4 separate regions of the Homo sapiens genome follow, and all the other regions are linked to region 3. The links are contacts of gene promoters, found by promoter capture Hi-C in blood cells and fetal thymus (Javierre and others, 2016). All regions are on one chromosome and are shown on one strand. Each heading gives the region's core, a stretch centred on a gene start or on the middle of the fragment in contact. The rest is flanking DNA. Distances are from core to core; before and after follow the strand shown.

Region 1 (6,487 bases), core at 3,988-6,487, 2.0 Mb after region 3:
TCAAATCCAGCATCAGATACCATTTCACATCCATTTTAAAAAAAAGAAGAAAAACAGAAAACAATGTGTGTTGGTGAAGATGCGGAAGAACCAGAAACTCTGGCTCCTTGCTAGTGGGAATATAAAATGGTACAGCCTCTGTGGAAAATGGTATGGCAGTTCCTCAAAAAAATTAAACATAGAGGCCGGGCGTGGTGGCTCACGCCTGTAATCCCAGCACTTTGGGAGGCTGAGGCGGGCGAATCACGAGGTCAGGAGATCAAGACCTTCCTGGCTAACATGGTGAAACCCCGTCTCTACTAAAAATACAAAAAGTTAGCTGGGCGTGGTGGCGGGTGCCTGTAGTCCCAGCTACTCGGGAGGCTGAGGCAGGAGAATGGCATGAACCGGGGGGGCGGAGCTTGCAGTGAGCCGAGATTGAGTCACTGCACTCCAGCCTGGGAAACACAGCGAGACTCTGTCTCAAAAAAAAAAAAAAAAAAAATTAAACATAGAATTATCATATGATCCAGCAATTCTACTTCTGAATTGAAAGCAGGGACTCTAATAGATATTTGCATACCCATGATCACAGCAGCATTATTCACAATAGCCAAAAACAGAAACAACTCAGGTCAATTGATGAATGAATGGGTAAGCAAAATACAGTATACACAAAAAGAAAATATTATTCAGCCTGAACAAATTCTGGGCCAGGCACGTTGGCTCCCGCCTGTAATCCCAGCACTTTGGGAGGCCAGGGTGGGTGCATCACTTGAGGCCAGGAGTTCAAGAACAGCCTGGGCAACATAGCAAAAACCCCATCTCTACAAAAAATTAAAAAATGAGGCCAGGCACAGTGGCTCACACCTGTAATCCCAGCACTTTGGGAGGCTGAGGCAGGTGGATCACCTGGGGTCAGGAGTTCAAGACCAGCCTGGCCAACATGGTGAAACCCATCTCTACTAAAAATACAAAAATTAGCCAAGTGCGGTGGCGCATGCCTGTAATCCCAGCTACTCGGGAGGCTGAGGCAGGAGAATTGCTTGAACCAGGGAGGGAGAGGTTGCAATGAGCCGAGATCACGCCACTGCACTCTAGCCTGGGCAACAGAGAAAGACTCTGTCTCAAAAAAAAAAAAGAAAGAAAAAGAAATTTTGACACATGCTACAACACAGGTGAACTTTGAAGGCATTATGCTAAGTGAAATAAGCCAGATAGAAAAGGACAAATATTGTATGGTTCAACTGGGAATAGTCAGATTCATATAGGCAGAACCAGCAGCTGGAGAGAGTGAAGAATGGAGAGTTACTGTTTCATGGGTATCAAGTTTCAGTTGATGAAAAAGATCTGGAAATGGATAGTGGTGGTGGTTGCACAACAATGTGAATGTATTTAACGCCACTGAACTGTATATTTAGATATGGTAAATTGCATGTTATATATATATATCTTATTATGATAAAAAAGTTAAGCAATTATAGCATTATGTAGCAAAATCAGAAAGAATTGAATAATTTTAAAAATTGGCAACAGGTCTTAGAGAAAAAGTATTTACATTCACTCTAAATATAAATCATTTGAGAAAGAAATGCCAAAGACTGGGAACCCTGAGCCTGGTCACTGTCTGCGCTGGTTCTGTAGAAGATGGAGTAGACTCAACCAGCCAGGGGTACTGGGTTGAGGGAAACAGGTGAGGAGAGTCAGAACTAAAGAACTCCATAATCGGTACCAAAACCGTTTTCAGGGGAGTAGACGAAGCTCTGGACTGTTTTACAATGTGTCCCTTTCTCAACCCAAATTCTAGAATATCTAATTAATTAAAAGTAAAGCCAAAGAGCAGGAGGATCACTTGAGCCCAGGAGACAGGTCTGGGCAACACGGTGAGACCTCACCTCTACAAAAAATTAAAAGATTAGCTGGGTCTGTTAGTGCACACCTGTATGATTCAAGCCTGTAGTCCCAGCTACTTGGGAAGCTGAGGTGGGAGGATCGCCTGAGCCTTGGAAGTCAAGGCTGCAGTGAGCCATGATTGCGCCACTGCACGACAGCCTGGTCAACAGAGGGAGAACCTGTCTCAAATTTTAAAAAATAATAAAACTAAAGACAAATAGACCAATAAAACCACATAAAGTCCAAAATTAAACCCTATGAATATACAGTTACCTATCTGTGACAAAAGTCCTAAATAGTGCTGAAGCAATTGGACATTCCTGTGGGAGAAAAAAATATGACTCCTACCTTGCACCAGACACAAAAAAATAAATTCGAAATAGATTGCAAATTTAAATGAGAAGAGTAATTCAATAAAGCATTTAGAGAAAAGAAGAAGAGAACATCAGTCTTAGAGTAAGGAGAGATTTCTTAATCGGGACATTAAAAGTACTCAAAAAAATTTTAATAAATTGAACTATATTAAAATTAATAATTTCTGTTCATCAGAAGATATCATTAAAAGTGAAAGGCATCCACAGAGTGGGAAAGAAATATGTGCAGTATATATTTCTGACAAAGAAATCATATCCACCTGTATAACAATATAATACAAGTTATTCTGTAAAGACCTTGCAAATCAATATTAAAAAGATAAACTTAATTTTTAAATGGGGAAAAAAATTTGACCCTTCACAAGATTTCCAAATGGCTAATAAACAAACAGGTGCTCAAATTCATTAGTTATCAGGAAAATGCAAATTAAAATTATTTGTATGATGAACACTATAACACACTTGCTAGAATGACTAAAATTAAAAAGGACAGAAAATATCAAGTATTGATAAAGATGAGTAACAACCACACCTCTGAGACTGTCAGTACTGGCGGAAGTGTACACTGGTACAACCACTTTGGAAAATTGTTTTAAAGTATCTACTAAAGATGAACAAATGCACACTCTTTAACCTAGGGATTCCATTCCTAGGGCTATCCCCAACAGAAATGCACAAACATGTCCACCAAAAGCTATGTACAAAAAGTTCATAGCCAGCCCGGCGTGGTGGCTCATGCCTGTAATCCCAGCACTTTGGGAGGCCAAGGCAGGTGGATCACCTGAGGTCAGGAGTTCAAGGCCAGCCTGGCCAGCATGGAGAAACCCCGTCTCTAATAAAAATAGAAAAATTAGCTGGGTGTGGTGGTGTGTGCCTGTAATCCCAGCTATTCAGGAGGCTGAGGTAGGAGAATCACTTGAATCCCGGAGGCAGAGGTTGCAGTGAGCCGAGATTGTGCCACTGCACTCCAGCCTGGGAGACAGAGCGAGACTCCATCACAAAAAAAAAAAAAAAAAAAAAATATATATATATATATATATATACACACACACACACACACACACACACATATATACATACACATATATATACACATATATATATTCATAGCCAAAACCTAGAAACTACTGAAGTGCCCATCAACAGTAAAATGAAAAATAAATTGTGCTATAGTCACACAACTACTGCACCGAGAATGAATTATAACCACATACAACATGGAGAAATTTCACAAACATTGTACAAGAAACTGGACACAGAAGAGTATATACGGTAAGATTCCATTTACATAAAGTTCAAAACTAAGCAAAAACTAATCTATGATATTAGAAGCCAGGGCAACGTTTACCCTTGGTGGAGGAGAAAGTAATTGGAAGAGGGAAAGGAATCAGTCTCTGGGATCCTAGTAAAATTGTGTTTATTTATTTATTTTTTTATAATGGTAGAGATGGGGATTCACTATGTTGCCCAGGCTGACCAGTCTCAAACTCCTGGTGGATTCAGGAGTACACAGGCGTGTTTAGTATGAAATGATCTGAAGGGTACATGTATGATTACATGAACTTATCTCTGTGTATTTTAGCTTCAATTATAAAAATTACAACTAAATGTGTACCAAATTCCACTAACTCAAATTCCACCAGCTCAGACTTTATATGTCCTCTTTATTCAAAGTATGACTTCCAAAGTGATTCTCAATTTTCAAGATCAGTGAGTACACAAATTAGATAATTCTAAAGCAGAATTTTTTCACCTCAAACCAAGTGTGACTGAATCGTAGACAACTTAGGAGAGGCGTAAATATAAACATAAAAAATTGACATATTTTACAACAGTTATGAAAACACAGATAAACCCAATTACAATACATTCTAGAGCATCATGAAAAGATAAAAACATCAAAGTAGACTTTCCAAGGTCAAGTCCGCTTCCTGACTCCTGCCAACAGCACACATGGAACATGGGCCAAAAAAGAAGCTGCTTCCCTAAGAAGTTGCTTCCATAGCAAAATGGACTTTTGCTGAGGTCCTCACTCCCAAAAATAACCAATATTCTCATCCCAAACGGTAAGGTTTCGAACTCAACCCACGTGGGGGCTGGGGGAGATGAAAGAGGGATGGAAACGTGAGGCGCCAGGAGGGCAGGAGGTGTTGACCGGGACAAGGTAACCGGCCGGGTCCAAACGCGAGAGGCGGGCGGGCTCCGCGCAGCCCGGCCCTTCCCGGACCCGCCGGGCCCACCCAGGCTCTCCGGGACGCCTGCGCATCCACCTGCCTACCTGGCCTGGCGGCGGAGCGCGGGGGCGCGCACTGGCGGGGCCGCCGTCCACACCCCGAGGCGCGAGCCGCACACCCGCCCAGAGAGGAAGCCCCTGGGGTCCCAGAGCGCGGCGCGCACCGCAGCCCTCCCCGCGGGAAGGGAAGGGCAGCACCGAGGCCGCGGGGCGGGGGCGGGGTCGGGGCTCGAACGGAGGGAGCGCGAGGGGGCAGGGGAGGCAAGAGCGGAGCGGGGGGGCAGGCAGAGGAAGCGAAGGGGAGGGGAGGGGAGAGGAGAGGTGGGGAGGGAAGGGGAGGGGAGGGGAGAGGAGGGGTGGGGAGGGAGAGCGGCAGAGGCCGGGGCGGGAGGCGCGAGGCGAGGCCCGGAGGTGAGGGGTCCGGGGACCGGGGGCCCGGGGGCGGGGACGGAGGGCCCGGGCGGGCACGCGGGACTGTCAGGGCTGCCTCGGTCCCCACGCACCGTGGACTCCCGCACTTGGCTGTGGAAGTGCTGCTCCCGCGCCGACACCTCGTCCTGCCCTTCCATCCTCCTTCATGCCCGCCGCCGCGCCGCCCGCGTCCGCGTGCTCCGCCACACCATCGTCCGCCCGCCGCAGGGGCTCGGACAGCCGCGCCGGGGACCGGAGCCGGCACGGGCCCGCGAGCCGTGTTGGAACAGGTACCGCGACCACGACACCGGCCGTCGCCTCAGCAGCCTCAGACGAGCAGCTCTGACTAAGGGAGGGCGGGCGCCGCGCAGTCGGGGGCGGGGCGGGGGCGGGGCAGGGAGGGGAGGGGGCGGTGCAGGCATACGTCAGACGAAAGGCGCCGATGCGTCAGAAAAGCGCGCCTCGCGGTCTTCCGAGCTGCTGGGCCGGGAGGCGCTGAGGGGGCGGGGCCTTGAGGTCGCGGGGCGGGGCTCCGCCCACGCTCTCAGGGGCTACCCCAGTTAAGGAGGCGCTGTCCTGGCGTCGGATGGGGACGGGGAACGCGGCGAGGGCGCTGCGACCTCTGCCCACCTGGCCCGGCCGCAGTCTCGGAGTTCCTGTTCCTCACAGGAGCTAATTATTTATGACAGCTGCATGGTTCCCCTCCCCCAGTTACTCAGTGCTTGGCACTCGGCACCCCTTACTCAGCACTCAGTACCGCACTCGGCCTCAGGGGACCTGGGCAGAGGGAAGCAGGGAGTCTCCCGCGGAAACTCTTGCTCTGCCAAAGTAGGTTGAAAGGTCGGAAATCGGTGGTTTGGGGCCGGGCTTTGGGCGGAAACCCAGCTTCTCTGGGTCTGAGAAGGGTCTTGGGCTGCCCCACCTGGAAAACGCAGATAACCGAGCTCGCTAGACCCTTGCCAAGTCCTTCCGGTAGCTCGGTCACTAGGGTCAGTTTTATGACTCTCAGTGGACCCTAAACAGCACGTAATATATGTATTTTTCACCGCCAAATATATCAAACACAATAATTCACCCTCCGTTCCCTATTATCTTTCTTTTTGTTATAAAATTTGAATTTAAGGGAATGTTTATAATTTTACCTTAGGATTTATTTGGCTACGAGGAAGTCATTTAAATTGCTAGTGGCTGCGATTTTTGTTTTTGGCATCTTTGAGAATTCTTAGGAAGTGTGAAAATCTACAAATTGCTTTCAAATGTCATTTAGTTTTTGTTTTTGTTTTTTTTTTTTTTGAGACAGAGTTTCACTCTTGTCGCCCAGGCTGGAGTGCAATGGCGATCTCTGCTCACAACAACCTCTGCCTCTTGGGTTCAAGTGATTCTCCTGCCTCAGCCTCCCGAGTAGCTGGGATTACAGGCGCCCGCCACCACGCCCAGCTAATTTTTGTATTTTTAGTAGAGACGGGGTTTCACCACGTTGGCCAAGCTGTTCTTGAACTCCTGACCTCAGGTGATCCGCCCACCTCGTCCTCCCAAAGTGCTGGGATTACAGGCCTGAGCCACCGCGCCCGGCCGTTGTTTAGATTTTTATGAATCT
Region 2 (6,844 bases), core at 3,199-5,698, 1.7 Mb after region 3:
CAGGTTTACCCTTATGAAACCATCAGATCTCCTGAGACTTATTCACTACCACAAGAACAGTATGGGGGAAACTGCCCCCCGATTCAATTATCTCCCATCAGGTCCCTCTCACAGTATGTGGGAATTGTGGCAGTACCATTCAAGATGAGATCTGGTTGAGGACACAGAGCCAAACCATATCACCCTCCCATCGTAGGCTTGAAGTGCTAGAAGGACTGAATGGTTTCCTGCACCAGGCCCAGCCCCTGCTGCCCTGCACAGCCTCTGGACACTGCTCCTTGCATCCCAGCCACTCCAGCTCCAGCCATGGCTAAAAGGGGTCCAGGTACAGCTTCGGCCACTGCTTCAGAGGGTGCAAGCTCTAAGCTTTGGTAGCTTCTACATAATGTTAAGCCTGTGGGTGCAAAGAACGCAAGAGTTGAGGCTCAAAAGCCTCCACCTGGATGGATTGCAGAGGATGTATGGAAAACCCTGGATGTCCAGGCAGAAGCCTACTGCAGGAGCAGAGCCCTCTCAGAGAACCTCTACTAGGGCAGTGCAGAGGGGAAATGTGGGGTTGAACCCCCCTATAGAGTCCCCACTGGGACACTGCCTAGTGGAGTTGTGAGAAAAGGGCCACCATCCTCCAGATCCTGAAATGGTAGAGCCACCAACAGCTTGCACCATGTACCTGGAAAAGCTGCAAGCACTCAACCACAGCCTGTGAGAGCAGCTGCAGGGGCTGATCCCTGCAAAGTCAAAGGAGCAGAGCTGTCCAAGGACTTGGGAGCCCACCTCTCACACTGGTGTGTCTTGAAATTGGGACATGGAGTCAAACAAGATTATTTTGGAGCTTTAAGGTTTAATAACTTCCTTCCTGGGTTTCAGACTTCAAGTGGGGCCTGTAGCCCCTTTCTTTTGGTGGATTCCTTCCTTTTGGAACAGGAGTATTTACCCAATGCCCATACTTGCATTGTATCTTGGAAGCAACTAACTTGTTTTTTTTATTTTACAGGCTCATAGGTGGAAGGGACTAGCCTTGTCTCAGATGATACTTTGGACTTTTGAGTTAATGCTGGAATTAGTTAAGACTTTGGGGGACTGTTGGGAAGGCATGATTGTATTTTGCAATGTGAGGATATAAAATTTGGAAAGGTCAGGGGAGGAATTATGTGGTTTGGATCTGTGTCCCCACCCAAAGCTCATGTTAAATTGTAATCCCCAATGTTGGAGTGAGGTCCCAATGTTGTAATCCCCAATGTTGGAGGTGATTGGATCACAGGGGCAGATTGCTCCCCTTGGTGTTGTTCTCATGATAGTAAGTTCTTGTGAGATCTAGTTATTTAAAAGTGTGTGGTACCACCTCCCAACCCCAAAAACTCTTAACATTATTTTAAATTTACATAACAAGTATTACCTTTATGGCACTTTTCTTGGTCATCTTGTCTTAACTATGCCTTTATGTACAATCTTTTTCCTTTAAGCCTAAAGTCTCAGCTCCGAGCTTTTCAGATATAAATTTTCTACCTTGTTTCACCTAACAGTCATCCCTAGAAATGCAAATTTAGGGCTGCCTAGCTAACAATTGCTTAGGGCAATGAAACAGGTAATTGGAAGATTAAGTCTGAATAGGGAAATAAAAACTATTTGAAAGCCAGCAAATGAGAATTACTTGTAAAAGCTATAAGCTCTGCTTCTCCATGTGTCTGTATGTTGATATGTATTATGTGTATAATATTTGGCAAATAAAGCTAGCTTTAAAATTGTTGATAAGATAGAAATGGCTTCAGAATTGTTAGTTAAATATAATTCAGATATTTTTGGCTAGATCTACTGGTCAAATAGGTTTATGCTATCTCTACATGTTTTTAAGGGCATAAAACTGCTGCTTCTATAATACTTTATATACTTTCTTAATTTGTCTGTAATATTTTGTTCTTGGTTTTGAGCCTCTGGATTCTGGGGTCTGGATAGGTGGCCATAGTGAGGCCTGAGGACATGTTATCAGTGGCCAGACCACCAATTACTAGGCAGAGTCAAGCCCAAGATGAGCCCCTTCTTCCTTGGCCCAGCTTTGTCTCCTAGCCATGCTGAAAGGGTTTGGATCTCCCAGGCATCATCTTCACAGGTGTCTTCTGTCTTGAGCTCTACATTTGGTATGTAAATTCAAGACCCAAATAGGCCCTGCCCTTCAAAGCCATCCTGGATACGATGTGACTACTTGAGACTCAGAACAACTGAGGAAAATATTAGCAGGAGAGTACCTGTGTCATTGGCAGGAGAGTACCTGTTTCAAAGTTCTTTTCCATAATTTAAAATCTTAAAGTTATGCTATATTGAATTAAGTAATAAGCATAAATGTCTGAATCATTTCTAAGTAAGTTAAAATACTGAAACATTAATTAGTAAACATAAATTTAAGTTTATATATTTTGGCATCTTATTTTTAGATGGTATAGAAAAGCTACATATATTTACATCTATTAATAAACTTGAGAAAACCTATCTAAAAAGTTATGAAATAGTTTTCATCTACAATTATTGATATAGAACAGTTCAAAACTACTTCCTAGGCTTTCACTAGAAATTAGGGTTACTAGTAGTTAAAACTGTAGTTAATATATGTAATTGAAACTAATAGATATAAAAAACAATTTTGTATATAGTGTCTAAAGAAAAGCAAAGTATTTTTCGGTAAGGAAAGTTGTAAAGGCATGAAAATGTGTGTTGAGAAAAAAAATAATTTTGTCTAGAAGCTGAAGATTGTTTCAAATTGAAGGAATAAAAAAGAAAGATAAATGAATAAAGTTGGAAAGAATAAAAAAATTGTAAGAGATTATAAAAAGTTTATGGAAATTTTCTGTGGTCAAAAGATGACAAATTGGACAGATCTGTTTATAAGGTTTTATTAGCTTAGTGTTGATAATACACTATGCAAAAGTAAAATTTGGTTTTCCCTTTTGAACAAGAATTTTCATGTAGTATTATTAATAAGAGGTAGTAAAAGACTTTTGTTCACCTTTTGAGTAAACTGCAAAAGAGAGACAGAGGAGAGAAGGAGACAGATTCTGTCTCATGCTGTCTTTCTCAGATCTGTTGATTGGAAAACTGAGTCTCCCCTCTATCAAAGAAGAAAGGTTTTTGCTTTCTAACCCCTTTTATCACTTTGGCTAAATGAATATTATCTTACAATGCCTTGTGATCCTATTTTGATTATTTTAAGCCTTTGACATATTTGACAGCCTTCCCAAAATCAAATTTCAAATTGTCTTTTTTTGTTGTTACCTCAAACTAACTTTGGGATGCTACAGAGGGCCCCTGCAGCATCCAAAAGACAGAGAAACAGGATTATTTGCTATGTTAAGTTTATAAGCAAGTAAAATCCTAGAGTATCATGCCTTCAAGGAGATTCATGAAAAGGATGGAAAGGACCCTGACAAGCACTCTTGAATGCGAAGTTTCTGATGTCTTTAGGATCATATCGTTTAGACTGGGTATGAATTACCAGCACTCTAATGAACACACTGACTGGCTTATGAAACTGATAATCCAATTAGGATAAAAATTAATTGAATACCAAGGAACTACTCTGCCAGATCTTCAAGCTAAGTCAGCCAGTACTGAAATTGTTTTGATATGTAGTTTAGATGAATTCCATGATCCAAGTCAAATTTACCTATGATAACCCATCTAATAAACAGTGCTATGCACGTGAATTGGAGAAACAAAACTGATATTTAAGAAGACATAAATCTTCCATTTTGCAGCTATCACTGAAGCAGCAATCGCCAAAATGAAGTTCAATCCCTTTGCGACTTCCAACCGAAACAAGAACCACAAAAGGCATTTCAATGCACCTTCCCACATTTACAGGAAGACTATGTCTTCCCCTCTTTCCAAAGAGCTGAGACAGAAGTACAACGTGTGATCCATGCCCATCCAAAAGGATGATGAAGTTCAGGTTGTACGAGGACACTATAAAGGTTAGCCAATTGGCAGAGTAGTCCAGGTTTACAGGAAGAAATATGTCCTCTACATCGAACGGGTGCAGTGGGAAAAGGCTAATGGCACAACTGTCCATGTAGGCATTCACCCCAGCAAGGTGGTTATCACTAGGCTAAAACTGGACATAGACCGCAAAAAGATTCTTGAACAGAAAGCCAAATCTCGCCAAGTAGGAAAAGGGCAAATACAAGGAAGAAACAATTGAGAAGATGCAGGAATAAAGTAATCTTATATACAAGCTTTAAAACTTGAAATGAAAAACAAAAGGAAGATATAAATCTAATGTTAAGGATGGACTCATGGAGCCTGGACAGATGCCTGGTCCTTCCTGAATCCTTAAAGCTTCCATTACTAAAAGCTCTACACTCCAAGGCCCATCATGGAAGAGGTAAGATGATCCAAATAGAATATTGGCATGTTCTAAATTGCTAAAATAGTTTATGTCCAATGTTTGGTTTGTCAAATCTACAATCCTGGGAAGGCAATCAAAACTTCATGTACATTTCTGCTACATTATAGGCCACTGAAACATTTTTAGAGGGATTTCATTCCATTGCCATTTTCAATGCATGTTTTCTGATTGTATAGAAGCTTTTCCATTCAAAAAGTCTCGTGCTGTAACAGTAGACAAAAGGTTATTAGGAAACATGTTTCTCTCATGGGACATACCTGGAAAGATTGCTAGTGATAGAGGTACTTGTTTCATCAGACAAGTTGTAAAACAATGAGATAAGGTATCATAGGTACAATCACATCAGGCAAAGCTAACTGAATTGACTGGATTTCCTTGGTCTAAAGTACTGCGGATTGATGACAGATCCACTTCCATGTGCAAAACGTTAAGTTGATCCCTTATGCAATAGTCACTGAAGGCCTATGCTCCTAATAATAAAACCTCACACATCTTCTCCTCCTAAGCTCTGATATGACTAAGTGCTGCCAGGCTTTAATGCATTATGCCCAAGTCTATTTTCACCAGGTAAAGAAAGCTTTCCATGGTCCACTGAGGACAAACCCTACATGATCTAAAGCCTAGAAACTGACTCTTCTGGAAACATCATCAGGGAAAGACTGCCCCTGCCACTTACACTGCAGCAAAACTTCAGCACCTTGAGCCTTGGGTTTACAATCTCACAGCTGAAATGGGCCCCTCCAGACTCTTCAATCTATACACTTGTTGGAGACCTTAAGGTAAAGCTAACCAGGAAAGTTTCTCCCTAAAAGCAGACAGCATCCTAGATGTGGACAGCTTTCCCAAGATCATGGATCAATACTTTTCTGCTATCATGAGACTCTTATCTCTCAATAGTTCCTTTGCTTGTGCCTCTATGAATAGAACTGCAGAAGGGGTCTCTCCTGTGTACTTGTGGGGTATACTTTTATTTGCGGAGAATTTCATAGTCAACATTAAACATGAACAACCTTATTGTACATCAATTTTAACAAATATAGCATACAAATGGCAAATAGGGGAAACTGTTGCAAGGAGAGGGAGCTCTCTGTATTATTTGTTCAATTTATCTGTAAAATTTATTAAGAAAATAAATCTATTAATTAAAAAAATTATCTGGATGTGATCAGGAAACATCCTGTCTCTTGATATATTTAACATATTAGAGCATCAGCTGATTCAATTTTTAGAGACATTCAGCTTTAGCCAAAGTGGTTGAAACCAGTATATGTATTTATTTCCCAGGTTATTTTAGAGTTTCTACTAATAACCTGACATTTATGCTTTTACAAACCTGTCAAAACTTTCAATTAAGGCAGAAAAATCACAAATGTCTGAAAGGAGTCCACATTACCCAAACACCTTTCATACAATCAGTATGCCTAACAGCTTTTGGCAACATTTTTGAAGTGTCTGGTATCTGGTGATCACAGTGTAGATAGCAAGAATATCTCCATCGTGTCAGATATTAAGGCATAGTAGGACATTATTCTTTACCAAAGTGATAAATTACTTCTAAGTATATTGAATTCAACAACAAAGAATGAATTTGCTCCATTTTTTAATTCGGAAAACAGTTTTTAAAGGCTCGCTTGTTATACCCGTGACTTTAAATTATAGAGTAAGAATGAAAACAAGATTTCTCCTCTCTTCTCCAGTGTCGGAAGTGTTTTCATCAGTGTTTCTCTACTACTATTTTAATGTTGACAGGAATGATGTCATCATGATATGTCTGCCACAGGTATTTTTTTAAATGCATTTTATCAGAGGAGTGGAAACAACTCATCCTAAGCCCTTTTTCATTATTAAAGACAAAACAGAACTATAATATAATCTCTAGGAAAAAAAAAAAAAAAACACTTCAGTAAGTTCCCACAAGTATACCTGAGTCTTTACAGCAACTGCTGCTACAAAACACTCGGAGAGATTGGCAAATTTCCAAACAATTGCTGGACATCACATACTGCATAATATAGGCAATGACTTAGAATTATTTGAAAAAATAATCTGGGTGGAAGCAAGGGTGTTAGTTTGTTCTCATGCTGCTAATAAAGACATACCCGGGACTGCATAATTTATAAAGGAAAGAGGTTTAATTGACTCACAGTTCCACATGGCTGGGAGGGCTCAAAATCATGGTGGAACAGGAAGCAAGACAGGTCTTATATGGCAGCAGGCAAGACAGAGCTTGCGCAGGGCCACTCCAATGTATAAAACCATCAGATCTTGTGAGACTTATTCACTACCACAAGAATAGTATGGGGGAAACTGTCCCTATGATTGAATTCTCTCCACCTGGCCCTGCCCTTGACACATGGGGATTACTTACTACAATTCAAGGTGAGATTTGTGTGGGGACACAGCCAAACCACATCAGCAAGTTAGGAATAGAAATTGATAATAAATATA
Region 3 (7,093 bases), core at 4,594-7,093:
CCTGCTGGCCATGTAAGACATGCCTGCTTCCCCTTTGCCTTCCACTGTGATTGAAAGTTTCCTGAGGCCTCCCCAGCCATGCTTCCTGTACAGCCTGCAGAACCAAGAGCCAATTAAACCTCTTTTCCTTACAAATTACCCAGTATCAAGTTGTTCTTCATAGCAATGCAAGAACGAACTAATAGTCTTCTTTAGATGAGAAGTGTTAACTGCCTTCTACTTCAGCAGCACAAAGTTTAGCAGGCAGTACTCAATAAGGTCTATACCATTTTGGTTGAAGAGAGTTATTTAAGAAATGTTGTGTCCAATAGATGAAATCTCGTGGGTCAAGTCCATGGTCTTTGAAGTTTTCTTCTCCCAGGAGCTCACTGTGAAAAGATTCTTCTACCGATTCATAATTTTTAGTTAATTGCCTCATTAAGCCATTGCAATAGCTAAATATGTCTCCTTTACTATTAAAGGCTATAGATCTGCCTGCTGTAATTTTTAATGGAGATAACTGGTGTTTACCAAAAGGGATCGACCTCAGATTAAGCAGAAACAGTGGAAGAGCTTTTAGCCAAGGAATTTGAAAGACCTCCATTAATTTTGCCAGTTGAGCTTTGATTATTCTGTTTGTGTGGTCCACTAACCCAGATGACTGGGGGTGGTCAACACAATGGAAATACTGGAGAATGGGCCAAATTTAACGTACTGGTTGGATGACTTATCCAGTGATCCCAGTGTCTCTGTCATTATGAAGCTCCAGAGGAACTCCCCAGGCTGCAATAATGTTTTCTAAGAGAATTGTACTCACCCTAAGGTCATTGCTCTTCTACATAGAAACACCTGCACCCAATGAGAAAACATGCCAATCATTACCAAAATATATGTGTATATTTGTGAGAGCGGCAACTGGACGGAATGTAATTGCCATACTTTGACAGAGGCCTCCCTGGATTATTTTGGGGGCAAAGGTAACAACTGTACATCCTGTGTGCTACAGTCAGAGAAGGTTTCCAAAATATCGTTTCCCTCAAGCAATCACTCTGTCAGGCTCTGGGGAGTTATGTCATGTGCATAAGTTAGAAATGATAACAAAAATTCAGCATGAAGTAGAAGCATGTTGTTTGATCCATATCATACCTCGTCTTTGGGGGAGTATGTTCCCCCTCTTTGCTTTCCAACTTTTATGTTCTGGTTTTGGAGCCCAGATTGAGGTAATTTTATACAAATGCAGGTGTTTCTTTTAAGATTACTGTAGATTATTTTTCTTGTTTAGATACATTTACAGTAGCTCTTTTTACTACCTTATTAGCTAGCTGATTTCCTTTGCTTTCTGGAGTGTTTGATTTAGAATGGCCTGGAATTTTAATTATGGCCAGTGACTTTGGTAATAATATGGCTCCCAACAATTGTGAAATGAGGTGTCCATTTTTTATGGATTGACCAGAAGAGGTGAAAAATCCTCTGTTTCCATAGCATTCCAAAATCATGAGCTACTCTGAAAGCATATTTACTGAATATTAGTAATGAATATTATCAACAATTATTCCTTTCGCCAACTGACAAACCCTGATCAATGCAATTCTGCTTGTTGATGTGAGGTGGCTTCTGGAAGGTAAGCCTTTCTATTTCTTCAGTTGAAGATACTGTTGTGTAACCTGCTCGGTAAGTCCCTGATCCATCCTTTAAATAAGAGCTGCCTGTAACTCAAACAACATCAGCATTAATCAGTGGAGTCTCTTGCAAGTCAGTCCTAGGAAAGAGGAGCCAATCAACTGGGGCTATGTGATTATGCAGTGTTTCATCTGAAAATGAAGGCAGAAGAGTGTCAGGATTTAGGTTACACCTGGAGATGGTGATAGGAGAAGCTGAAAGAAGTAAAACTCATGTGAAGCTCGTCTACTAATTGAATAATGTCCAGTGTGGTGTGAGTTTAGTGATGCTTCCACAGAATGAGGGATAAAAACAGTAAGGGGAGTTCCCACCACAGTTCCTTGGGTCATCTTAATGAACAAGGTGGTTGCTGTTATATCTCTCATGCAAAGAGGCAATCCTTTGGCTACCGGGCCTAACTGTTGGCTGTAATGCCCTACAGGTCTATTTCAGCCTTCATGTTTCTGAGTCAGATTATCTAAAGCATTTCCATCATTTTCATGTACAAACAATGAAAATGTGAGGTTATAATTTACATGCCCCAAAGAAGAGGCATTGGCAAGACCATTCTTAGTCATTTCTAATGTTAGTTGACTTTCTTTTATCCAGTCTAGAGGGTTTAAAGTTCTCTATTAAGAGGGCATATAAGGAAGGTGGGCGCAGTGGCTCATGCCTGTAATCCCAGGACTTTGGGAGGCCAAGATGGGTGGATCAATGAAGGTCGGGAGTTCAAGACTAGCCTGGCCAACATGGTGAAACCCCGTCTCAAGTAAAAATACAAAAATTAGCCAAGTGAGACTCTGTCTTAAAAACAAAAAGGAGGGCATATAAGGATTGGGCTTTTAAATAAAAATTTGGAATCCAATTTCTACAATATCCTGCCAGTCCTAAAATCCCACTCAACCATCTCTTCATTCTTGGTTGTAAAAAGCTGAGATCCTTTCTAGTCTGTCTGAATTAATAAAACATCCTTCCTTGGATATTAGGTGGCCTAAGTATATCACTTGTCTTCGACAAAATTGAAGTTTCTCTTTAGAGACTTTGTTTTCTTAGGGCTGCCTTTTGTAATAAATGTAGCCCATCATTCACAGAACATCTTGTTTGCTCTCCAAGATGGAAGTCATTTATTTACTGGATTAATGTATGCATTTCCAGGAAATTAACATCTGAGAGGCCTATTTTTAATATTTTTGAAAAGTAAGTCAGGCTTTCAGCATATCCTTGGAGGCCTGTGTGACCCAGTGTATTGTCTGTTTTCCCAAGTGAAGGCAAAGAGAAATTGGCTATTTTTGTCTACAAGAATGCTAAAGAATGTACTACATAAGTCTATGACTGTAAGGAATTCCACATTAGAAGGAATGGCTGTGAGTAACATAGGCTTGTGCAGTATAGGGTGCCATGGGATTGCCATGTTGTTTATTGCTCTCAAGTCTTGTACAAACCTCCATTCTCTAACATTTGGTTTTCTTACCAGGAGGATTGGGGTATTACAATGGCTTGTACAAGGAATGAACAGTCATCTTTCTATATAATCTGACATTATAAGCTTTATCCCTCCTAGAGCTTTAGTTCTCAAGGGGTATTGTCTTGTATTTTGAAGATGTTTCCATGGGTATATTTAAATATTTATTGGAGTAGCTGAGATGATAGTTTCTATATCAATGGAGGACACTGACCACAATGGATCAAGTACTGTCTTTAGTACATTTTGTAATTCTTCATTAAGCAATAATTCATTGTCTTTCATGGCAATATGGATTGCAATTGGATTAGATTTTGAAAATTTTATTAAAATATCTGTTGTGTCTCAAAGTTGAGTTTTATAATCTAATTTTAAATATATTTCCTTCCTTTGAGAGAAAGAAATGTGGGTATCACATAATTCTAAGCAGTTTCTTCCTGTTGAATGGATGGGGTCTGATGGAACAAAGAGGAGGGCATGAGTTCCTTGTAACGAACACTGTTGAAAGGTTACAGGCTGAGATTGGTATGCCAATACAGGAGGATTGTGATGCCCACCATTTGAATTCTTTGTTTACTGCAAGGAATGGGACCTTGTACCAAGATGGGATTAATTCCAGATAATGTGGCTCCAGTGTCAATAAGTGCTTGTGTTAGTTCTCCATTTATAATAATTTTTATTTCTCCCAGTGTTAGTAAGGAGGAAATGAAAGGCCCCTTTAAGTTCCTTGGAGCACCCCTGTTTTCTTTTCTGCCTCCACTGGTTAACATTCTTTCCTTTTTCATTTTTGGCAACTCTTTTGAAAGTAATCATGCTTTTTGCAAAAATTGCAAAGTGGAAGGTTAGGTCCATTAGGGAGTTTCTAGGGGTATTGTGAAGGCCAAAATTGTGTGAATAGTTGTTTTAATTGTAAATTCATAATTGTATTAGCCTCGCTCTTTTGTTTGGCTTCCCTCTCTCTTTCTTCTTCAGTTAAGGTATCAGATAACCGGTCAATGAGACTGACCAAATCATGAGTATCAGAAGTGGCCCAACTTTGTCTTTTCATTGTTAGTTCCAATTCATCTAACTCATTTGTTAAACTGGAGTCGAGTATCATTTCGATGATTAGCACAGCTTTCTTCGGATAAAACTAAATATTCTTTAAAATTTTTTCCACAGCCCTCAAAGTATATTACTGACTCATCTGAATTTTGTTGATATTGTATTTTGTTCCAGTTGACTACTCTGAAAAACTGAGGAGATAGCCTGATGCAAAGCCTTTGCTGTTCTTCAAGCCTGTCTATGGTCCTCTTCTGAACATTTATGAAGATCCCTAACAGATTTCTCCAGTGAGCTTTGTCTAGCCAGCCTTTAGCTTTAATTTTTGCTACTAACATGTGAATCTGTTGCTAGAAGTCAGAATAACTAGGGTCATAAGCTTGGATATTTAATTCAAATTTCCTAGCAAAACCAATAGGAACCTGGTGAAGATCAAGGAATTCTTTTAACTATGCCTGTAAGTTTGATCATGATTGATAAAGCAGGTTCCCCTCTACCAGATGCTGGATGAAATGGAGCCAAACCAGTGGGAGCAGGAGGAGGGGCAGGAGGAGGAGGAGGAGAAGGTCAATCAGGGCTGGGTAGTTCTGACAAGGAGGCTTAGAGAGACAGGGGAGCAGGGAGAGAAGAAGACATTTCAGTGTTTTTTAAAATTCAGTAATGGTTTTAGAGTGCTTTTTATTTTCTTCCTCTAAGGGAAGAATTCTGTCAAAACCTCTTTTGGATGCTTCTGGGTGCCATTGGAAGTAACTCTCTTAATTATTTTATTTGATTCCATAGCTGGCTTTTTAAAATTGTGCATATAAATAAACTAATCTAGCTATTTCAAAGATAATTCTCTTTGATCATTGTAATTTAGGATCTTCTTAGGTCAAATAAGACCATTTCTCCAACTATCGACAGGAGGTGGCGCCATAAGTCTTGTACATAAACCCCGCTGGAGTTTCCAAAGGTGCATTGCTTAATGAGGGCTTGGTTATAGATGGATAATTGCTCATAATTTGGATTCTCTTTTAAAATGCCCAAAGGCTAAAAGGGAAAAGTGTTTGGGGTCCAGTGTGCTGCTTAGTAGGGATTATTCCTGGAGGTATCACCTACAAGTAGCTTCTTCCCTCTTACCTACCTCAGAGAAACCCAGACATTTCTGGGAGTTCAAGGCACTGGGTGACGAACCCCTTGTGTGTTGTGTGCCCCGGGGGTTAAGCAGCTCTCCCTGTGAGTTCTTCTCTGGGGTTTGTTGTGAGCTTCCACACCCTTGTGTTACCTCCATTGCCTAAGGTGCCTTTCAGCTGGGAGAAAGAGTCCTTTTTGTCTTCAGCTTATCACGTCCTCATTCCAACCTTTTACAAATTTTGGGTGACTCAGGAAGAAACTTTAAATCTCAATGTTAACCAAGATCCAAAGCCTGGCTGGTTTAAAGCCACAAATTTGGCTTAAGCCACAAACATTCACTTTCTCCTTTTACAAAGAAAACTGCTTTCTCTTTAACCAAATGTCAAATGAGAGAAAAGGTTACAAACTTGAGCAAGTAAAAAAATGTCCAATGAGAGAAAAGGTTACAAACTTGAGCAAGTAAAATGTCCAATGAGAGAAAAGGTTACAAAAGAGCAAGTAAGACGAACGAAAACTTAACCTAATAGAAAAGTGAAACCACAAACCTGCCAATAGCAGAATCTTTAGAGAAATGACGCGAAACTCCTGCCTTAAAGCCCTAAATGGCGGCTTCAATATCAGTCCCACTGAGCATGAAATTCATTTACTTAAATAAAATCTGAATCTCAGCCCAAACCTGGGAGATTCAAAACCTGAGAGCGGTCTTACCAAAGACGCCCGTATGTCTGGTGAAGTCAGTTGGATGCAAGCAGTTTGTGCTGGTACCAGGGCCCCAGCTACTGATGAAGTGGCAGGAGTCCACAGAAGCCTACTTCGAAGTTCCCGGGGCTTCCAGGGGAGGTGAGAACACAAGTGATGGGAGAGCCTGGGGAGGGACTGTCTGGTGAGTAAAGGTTGTGCTGCTCTGTGGATGAAATGTCTCTGAGGTCGTAAACATCTCAGAGCCGCCTTCGGGAGAACGGGTGATAGTCATCTGGGCTGATGTCACCTCCAGTGTCCTCTCCTGTGATCTGTGTTAATCCTCCCAGATTGACGAGATTCCTGGGGAGGCGATTCATGACAGCTGAGTTCCTTTTGGAGGATCCGTCTTCAGGCAGGTAAGGGGAGCTCAGAGGAAACCTCTGCCTGCATCCGCTGATTCCCAAGTGCCCTCAGCTCACAGGGATCAGCACTCCCAAGTGCCATGGGGGTGGCATTTCCTGAACTCCTTCAAAGCAATAACAACAGGCTGGGCGTGGTGGCTTACGCCTGTAATCCCAGCACTTTAGGAGGCTGAAGTGTGAGGATTGCTTGAAGCCAGGAGTTCAAGACCAGCCTGGGCAACATAGGGAAACCCTGTCTCTACAAAGAATTAAAAGAAAACTTAGCCAGGAATGGCAGTGCACACATGTGGCCCCGCCTACTCGGGAGACTGAGGTGGGAGGAGTGCTTGAGCCAGGTGGTTGAGGCTGCAGGGAGCTGTGATTGCACCACTGCACTCCAGCCTGGGCAACAGAGTGAGACTCTATCTCAAAACAAACAAACAACAACAACAAAAGTGAAACAATAACAACAACTTTTACAAAACGGACATTTGGGATCTACATGCCACACTCCTAAATGCGTCTCTTAAGCAACAGGTGTCACAGTCTTAAACCTTGTCCTTACCCTCTTCATTCTAGGCACCTGTTTCATTCCAGGTAGGGCTTCCTCCTGGTTTCCTAACACAGCGGGTTGAGATGAACAGCAGAGAAGGACACTGCACACCTCTGCAGGGTCTCCCCTCTGGCCCACCAGCCCTCCCTTCTCCAGCAGTGAAGACCTCACTATGTCATCCAGGCAGGAATAATATAGACAGAA
Region 4 (6,830 bases), core at 931-3,430, 1.6 Mb after region 3:
GCACGGACAACAGGAAGGTTTAGCATGGGTATTACAAAAAGGGCTTCAGAAAATTATATTGAGAGGCTTTGCAGTCTTCAACTACCTATAAGTCCACCTCATTTTTAACTTTGGGGGGCATCATCCATGTTTCTGTATGATTTTTAAAGCTTCGTCCAGCAGTAGGTTCATGATCAGGCAGCCTCTCTCAGGTCCCAAGAACACCGTGGGGAAGTGCACAGGGCTCCCAGCCCAGAATCCCTGTCTGTGACCACAAGGGTTTGCTTTCCTTTGTGAAATGTATGTCACTCTCCTTCTCAAGAAACTTCAGCAGGGGAAAGCTCAAAGCTTTTCCTCTAAGATCAGAAACAAGACAAGGATGTCCACGCTCACCACTTCTACTCAATGTAGTACTGGAAATCCTAGCCAAAGCAATTAGGCAAGAGAAAGAAAGAAAAGACATTCAAATTGGAAGGGAAGAAGTTAAATTATTGTTGTTAGCAGACAACATGATCATATCTATGGAAAACCCTAAAGACTCCATCAAAAAACTATTAGAACTAATAAATGAATTCAGTAAAGTTTCAGGATACAAAATCAACATACAAACATCAGGAGCCTTTTTGTACACTAATAGGGAAATATTGGAAAAAGCAATGAGGAAAACAACACCATTTACAATAGCTACAAAAAATAAAATAATTAGAAATAAATTTAACCAAGGAGGTGTAATATCTCTACACTGAAAACTATAAAACATTGATGAAAGACACTAAAAAGGAAATAAAAAGATATTCATGTTCATGGATTGGAAGAATAATATTGTTAAAATATCCGTATGACCCAAAAGTGATCTACAGATTCAATATAATCCCCATCAAAATATCAACGATATTCTTCACAGAAATAGAAAATATATAATTTATATGGAACCACAAAAGAACAGCCAACGTTATCCTGAGCAAAAAGAGCAAAGCTGGAGGCATCACATTACCTGACTTCAAAATATACTACACAGCTATAGTAATTAAAAGAGCATGGTGCTAGCACAAAAACAGACACACAGACAAATAGAACAGAATAGAAAGCCTAGAAATAAATCTGTGTGTTTATAGCCAGGTGATATTTAGCAAACATGCCAAGAACACCCAATGGAGAGAGGAGAGTCTCTTCAAAAAATGATATTGGGAAAACTGGATAGCCACATGCAGAAGAATAAAACTAGATCCTTGTCTCCCACCATGTGAAAAACCTACTTAAAATGGATTAAAGATTTAACTGTAAGACCCAAAACTATGAAACTACTGGAAGGAAACACAGGGGGAAACTCCAAGGCATGGGCGTCTGCAGTGATTTCTTGGATATGACCTCAAAGCACATGCAACAAAAGCGAACACAGACAAATCGGAATGCATCAAACTAAAAAGCTTCCATACAGCAAAAGAAACAATCGACAGAGTGAAGAGACAACTTAAGAATGGGAGAAAATATTGCAAAACTGTGCATCTGATAAAGGGTTAGTCCCCAAAATACATAAGGAACTCAAACAACCTAATAGTAAGAAAACAACCCAATTTTTAAAAATGGACAAAAGATCTGAAAAGATCCATCTTTGGATCCCATGTTGTCCAAGCCTGAATTCTTGAGAAAATTCTTTTCTGTGAGGGACGAGCCAGGAGGACTGAGATGGAAGTGAGGATAAAGGAGGTAACAAAGTTGTGTTTGATAGTGACGCTTCGGACGACGGCCTCAGAGATTCTCCGAATGGCAGGGTGGGAAGGCTATAATGGTCCTAAACTACTTCTTCATGTCCCAGTAAAGAAACTGAGGCACAGGGAGTCCAGTGGCTCACCCAGGAACCCCAGGTCAGGGCCTTGGACCAGGGCTTGGTAGCTCTGCCTCTGCTGACCCTGGAGGCAGTGACTTCAGGAGGTGAGGAAGCCCTGGGTGCTGCCCAGCCCGAGGCAGGCCTCCTGGGTCAGACGTTCCTGCTGCCTGAGGTCCGTTCATCCCAGCCACCCTCCCCAGCTGCCGGCTCCCCTTGCCTTGCAATTCACATGCCAGCCTCGGGGCTGCCAGCCGAGCTCATCCTTGTGTCCTCCAGCACCCACCACGTCCTCCCTGCCCGCTGCGGGCCTTGGCACCTTTGCCAGGGCTGCCCCCACCCCCAGCCCCAGCTGTCTCGGAGGTGTCAGAGCCTGAGAGTCACCCCCAAGAGCAGCCCTCTCTGACCCACCAGGCAGGCCATGCGACTGCCTATGTGCTCCTACAGAGGCCTGTGCCCCACCCTGGTCCACAGCTGACCTGTGTGCTGCACACTCACCTCCTTGCTTATCTGTGTGACTCCGGTTGGAGGGCTTTCTCCTCACTAGGCTGTCAATTCTGAGGGCATGAACCGAGCCTATCTTGTTTCTGCATCACTGTGGGGCCCAGCAGGGCCCAGCACCCAACAAATGTGTGTTGAATTGGGCCCCCTGAGCCGAGGGTGTGGATTAAACGACCCCCACAGAGCCCTTCTAGCCAAAAGGTCTGCCATCTCAGGGGTGTGTGTGTTGACAGAGAGAGGGAGGGAAATCAATTTAAAGTGAGAGAGAGAAAAAAAAATGCTGCATCTACAGTTCTTATTTATTTTTCCATTCCAATTTTATGTAATTCACAATAAAAAGATGCTCAATGTCATTACTCATTAGGAAAATGCAAATCAAAACCACAGTAAGATAGCACCTCACACCCACTAGGATGCTATAATCAAAAACTGGGAAAGAAGTGTCGGTGAGGACATGGAGAATGGAGGTCCTCACACAGTGCAGCAGGAATGCAGAGTGGTACAGCTGCTATGGAGAATAGCTTGTTCCCCACAAGTTAAGCATGGAATTACTGATTGGTGGTATCGTTGGATATTCACTGGAATATAATACTCGCCATCATGACTGCTACTGTTGTTTTACTCAATAGTTATGAAAAGAGGGAAAAAACAAAGCTTTATAAATTAAATCTATTATATCAACCCTTGAAGGAACACTGTAGTAAATTATTTTATAATTGTTCTATAATTCACCCTGTAATTTATTGATCTATAATTCTTTTGGGAGAGGCAGACCTGTATCATTAGCACTGTAACATCAGTTAACACTTCCCTTAAAGCAAAGGATGTAGCAATATCCCCCAAATTAAGTAATAACGTGCAGCTCTTACTGACAGTGTTTTAAATGACACTCTCTTGGGCAAGTAGAGGCATAATGGCTGGGCTAGTGAAACAAGAAAAAGAAAGAGGAGGGGAGAGAGAGAGAAGGAGATGAAGACAGAGGGAGGAAAGAAGGAAGAGAGAGAGAAGGGGGAGGTTGGGGTGGGGATAGTTATCTTGAACACTTGAAGCGTGTGGTCAGACACTCAGCCCTTTCAGTGTCACAATGATGAGTGTGTAAGAGTGTGCGTGTGTGTGTATGTTTAGATGGCTAGGGAATGCGATTCTGAAAGTTTCCAGAGATAGAGAATTGCTCAAAAGGGAATCCCAAACCCAAGTAACAGCCAATAAGCTCCATTCCAGGACACATGAGGTTCTAAGAAGGGTGAAGGAGAATTGAGTTGTACTTTACCCGGTTCACTTTCTGGCAAGTGCTTCTTCCAAATAAGGGTGCACAAGCTACTGCAGAATCCCTAGGGGAAAAGATATTCTAAGACATAGAAACAGAATCTGCAGGGTGACTTAGAGATGTTCTTAGTGGGTAAAGAACTTCTCGGGCTAGTTTCCTGTCGGAGACACTATCATTCAAAATATCTGACTGCTATTTATTTGGGAGTTCCAAAATTTCCTAAAGTAGGGAATGAAATAATGGTAGGACATTTTTAAAATAAAAATGGGTTCTGTGCAGCTAATTGGTTACTAATGTTTAAATTGTGCAGACATATGCCAAGCATCTGAGCTTTTGGAGAGATAACACATCATCCTTGCTGATAGACTGCTCCATAGCAGACACTGTCGCAAAAGCACCCTCAGAAATGAAACAGCGCGGGCCAGGGAAAATAGTAAATTCAACCTCACTCACGAAAAAGTAAGAAAACACACCACGTTAGGCATCCGCATGCTCCGTGGAAGCCCAGCCTTCACCTTCAGAGATGTGTCAGGAGGAGGTGCCACTGCTGTCCCAGTGCCAACCTCGAAAGGCTTAGCCATACCTCTTCCACCCATTTTACACTCGCTGCTCGTGTTTTCAGGCTGTATCCCATCTTGAAGTGAAGACATTCTTTAAGTTGGCTGCCCCACGGCGTTGGTGGCCATGAGAGGAAACGTGAGGCTCCGTCATTCTGTGATTAGGTGGAGACGTCTGAGGAGCTGCGTGAGGAGCAGGCAGGTGCTCTGGATGTAACCTGAGACAGCTTTGGCTTGTTTCCTACTGTCCCTTTTAAACCTGTTCTCTGGACACTCTCTGTCCCTGGATGAAAACCCAGGTGGGACGTATACATTTTCTAATCAGTCCCAGGAAATAAGAAGCGCTTTGGCCACGTGAAGTCAACAAATGCATCCAAAGTCAGCAATTTAAAATGCCCAGTCTGCTCCAGACACCAAAAACTCTGCCCTGAATAAATCGACCTTTGCCACCCCACCAAGGCCGCTATGGCCACCCAGCTCCTGCTGCAGCTCCACGGTTCATGACGCTCCTCCTCCAGCTGGCAGCTTAGGTGCCTGATGCCATCAGCCACCACCAAGTATGTCTTTCTTGTTGGGGTTCAAGGGGCTGTGGGAGGCAGGAGAGATCCAAGGGCAGGCGAGGTCTTACCCGATGACACCATCATAAGTCAGCTTTGGTCCCGCAGCCTGGCCAATGGTTGATGCTGCCCTTTCTCCAGTGGGTCAGAGCCCATTGATGGACTTGACACCTGTATCCCTGGAGGGTCTGTCCTCAGCAGTGGGCTGCAGCCCAGGTGAATTCACTCCTCTCCCAAACTTGCTCCCTCCCTAAATGCCTCCAGGAATCTGAAGACCATCAACAGGTTCTTTGGAAAGAGTTAATAGGAAAACTTCTGGAGAAACGGATACAGAAAAAGACAGAAGATACAACAAAGAAATGTTAGTCATGAGTAAAGAAACAGGATGCCAGATATAATTCTTAAAATGATTTAATGCCAAAAATGGGAACACGTGGACAAAGATAACTTTTTATAGTATAACTTAGAAGAACTTGAATATAAATAGAATTCCTGAAGAATCTGTTCACTATTAAAGAAACCAAAGCCATAGTTAAGGGTTTTCCTAGAAAGAAAACACAAAGCAAGATAGTTTTTACAAGTGAGTCCTAACAAATTTTCAGGAAACAGGTCATTGCAATCTCATGCAATCTTATTTTTCTAGGGAATAAAAAGAGGACTATCTCCACCTTATTCCATGAGGGTAGTGTAACCTTCCTGTTGAATTGAGGCAAGACTAACCTTATTCATGAATATACATGCCAAAATCCTAAACGAAATATTAGTGAATCGGCCCCAGCAGTGAATAAGAAAATACCTCATGCCATGGCCATGTTTGATTTATTTTAGAAATTCAAGAGTGTTCTAATATTTGAAAATTCATGAACTTCATTCATCATATCAAAAGATTAAAGAAGAGTAGGCTGGGCACGGTGGCTCATGCCTGTAATCCCAGCACTTTGAGAAGCCGAAGAGGGTGGATCACCTGAGGTCAGGAGTTCAAAACCAGCCTGGCCAACATGATGAAACCCTGTCTCTACTAAAAGTACAAAAATTATTCTGACATGGTAGCAGGTGCCTGTAATCCCAGCTACTTGGGAGGTTGAGGCAGGAGAATCGATTGAGCCTGGGAGGCAGAGGTTGCTGTGAGCTGGATCACACCACTGCGCTCCAGGCTGGGTGACAGAGTGAGACTCTGTCTCAAAATAGAAAGAGAAAGAGAGAGAGAGAAAGAGAAAGAAAAAGAAAGAAAGAAAGAGAAAGAGGAAGGAAGGAGAAGAAAGAAAGAAAGAGAGAGAGAGAAAGAAAAAGAAAGAAAGAAAAGAAAGAAAGAAAGAAAGAAAGAAAGAAAGAAAGAAAGAAAGAAAGAAAGAAAGAAAGAAAGAGAAAGAAAGAAAGAAAGAAAGAAAAAGAAAGAGTATTACCTGGTTATCTCAAATGGAGAAAACACATTTGATCTCATCAAACATCATCCAAGCTAGGAATAGAAGGACACGTCTTCAGTCTGGCAGAGTGTGTATGAAATACTTCCCATGAACATCGTTCTTCATGAGAAAACCGTGGAAGGAACATTCCCTCCAAATCAGGCCCAGGCCAGATAGGCCCAGTGGCTGCCGTCAGCACCGCCCCGGACATCAGAGGTAACGCTATAAGGAAGCTGGAATGTGTTAAAGTCAGAGGCTTGGAAAGGAAGAAATAAAGCCAGTATTGACTCCAAAGATAGAACTGGCCATAGGGAAAATCCAGTCCACATGGGAAAAGACATTAGTCTCACTGGTCATCAGCTGCATGTAAACGGAGCACAGTGAGACCCACTCTATGTCTACTCTACAAGCAAAAGTTAAGAGTTCTGACAATACCAAAGTTTAGAGAGCATGTGGACCCTTGAATCACAGAGAGAAACTTGCACAACCTCTTTGGAAAGCAACTTGTTATCATGTTGTGAAGGTGAGGGTTTGCCTAGACACAACAATCCCACCTCAGGGTACATATCCCAGAGAAAGCCTCACGCCTGCACCTGAAGAAGCATTCAGTGTGTGAATAGCAGGAGAGTCTGCAATAGTCAAAGAAACAATTCCGGTGTTCTCAGTTGGGGAATGGACAAATTGTGGCAGAGTCACATAAAGGAATGTTATGCAGCTGCAAATGGATGGATAGCGGCTCTA

What was found. Contacts are between HindIII fragments. The CHiCAGO score rates a contact against its expected background, and 5 or more counts as called.
Region 1: a contact is called between the fragment with the promoter of LMBR1 here and the fragment with the promoter of PAXIP1-AS2 in region 3, in 2 of 17 cell types (activated CD4 T cells and M2 macrophages). The highest score is 5.4, in activated CD4 T cells.
Region 2: a contact is called between a fragment that was not itself captured here and the fragment with the promoter of PAXIP1-AS2 in region 3, in 1 of 17 cell types (total B cells). The highest score is 7.2, in total B cells.
Region 4: a contact is called between a fragment that was not itself captured here and the fragment with the promoter of PAXIP1-AS2 in region 3, in 1 of 17 cell types (M2 macrophages). The highest score is 7.7, in M2 macrophages.

The regions. Positions count from the first base shown.
Region 1 is chr7:156,887,946-156,894,432 of GRCh38, forward strand. LMBR1 (limb development membrane protein 1) reads right to left here and starts at 5,238. Exons shown (of 17, transcript NM_022458.4): 1 at 4,983-5,238. The coding sequence starts at 5,048. LOC102723795 (a long non-coding RNA gene) reads left to right here and starts at 5,453. Exons shown (of 4, transcript XR_928253.3): 1 at 5,453-5,718. RefSeq lists silencers at 4,330-4,829, 4,880-5,459. The HindIII fragment of the contact is 17,725 bases long and covers 1-6,487 here.
Region 2 is chr7:156,629,583-156,636,426 of GRCh38, forward strand. The region is part of intron 1 of RNF32-DT (RNF32 divergent transcript); the gene reads right to left. It also overlaps the pseudogene RPL26P23. Among named protein-coding and RNA genes, the nearest start is that of RNF32-DT, 7.5 kb to the right of the region's middle. The HindIII fragment of the contact is 249 bases long and covers 4,325-4,573 here.
Region 3 is chr7:154,922,674-154,929,766 of GRCh38, forward strand. It overlaps PAXIP1-AS2 (PAXIP1 antisense RNA 2), which reads left to right and starts at 5,844. Exons shown (of 8, transcript NR_024476.1): 1 at 5,844-6,094; 2 at 6,283-6,351. RefSeq lists enhancers at 5,925-5,984, 6,005-6,104, 6,255-6,474. The HindIII fragment of the contact is 7,419 bases long and covers 4,519-7,093 here.
Region 4 is chr7:156,476,620-156,483,449 of GRCh38, forward strand. It overlaps RNF32-DT (RNF32 divergent transcript), which reads right to left. Exons shown (of 4, transcript NR_026865.2): 3 at 4,046-5,001. Among named protein-coding and RNA genes, the nearest start is that of LINC00244, 60 kb to the right of the region's middle. The HindIII fragment of the contact is 1,553 bases long and covers 1,405-2,957 here.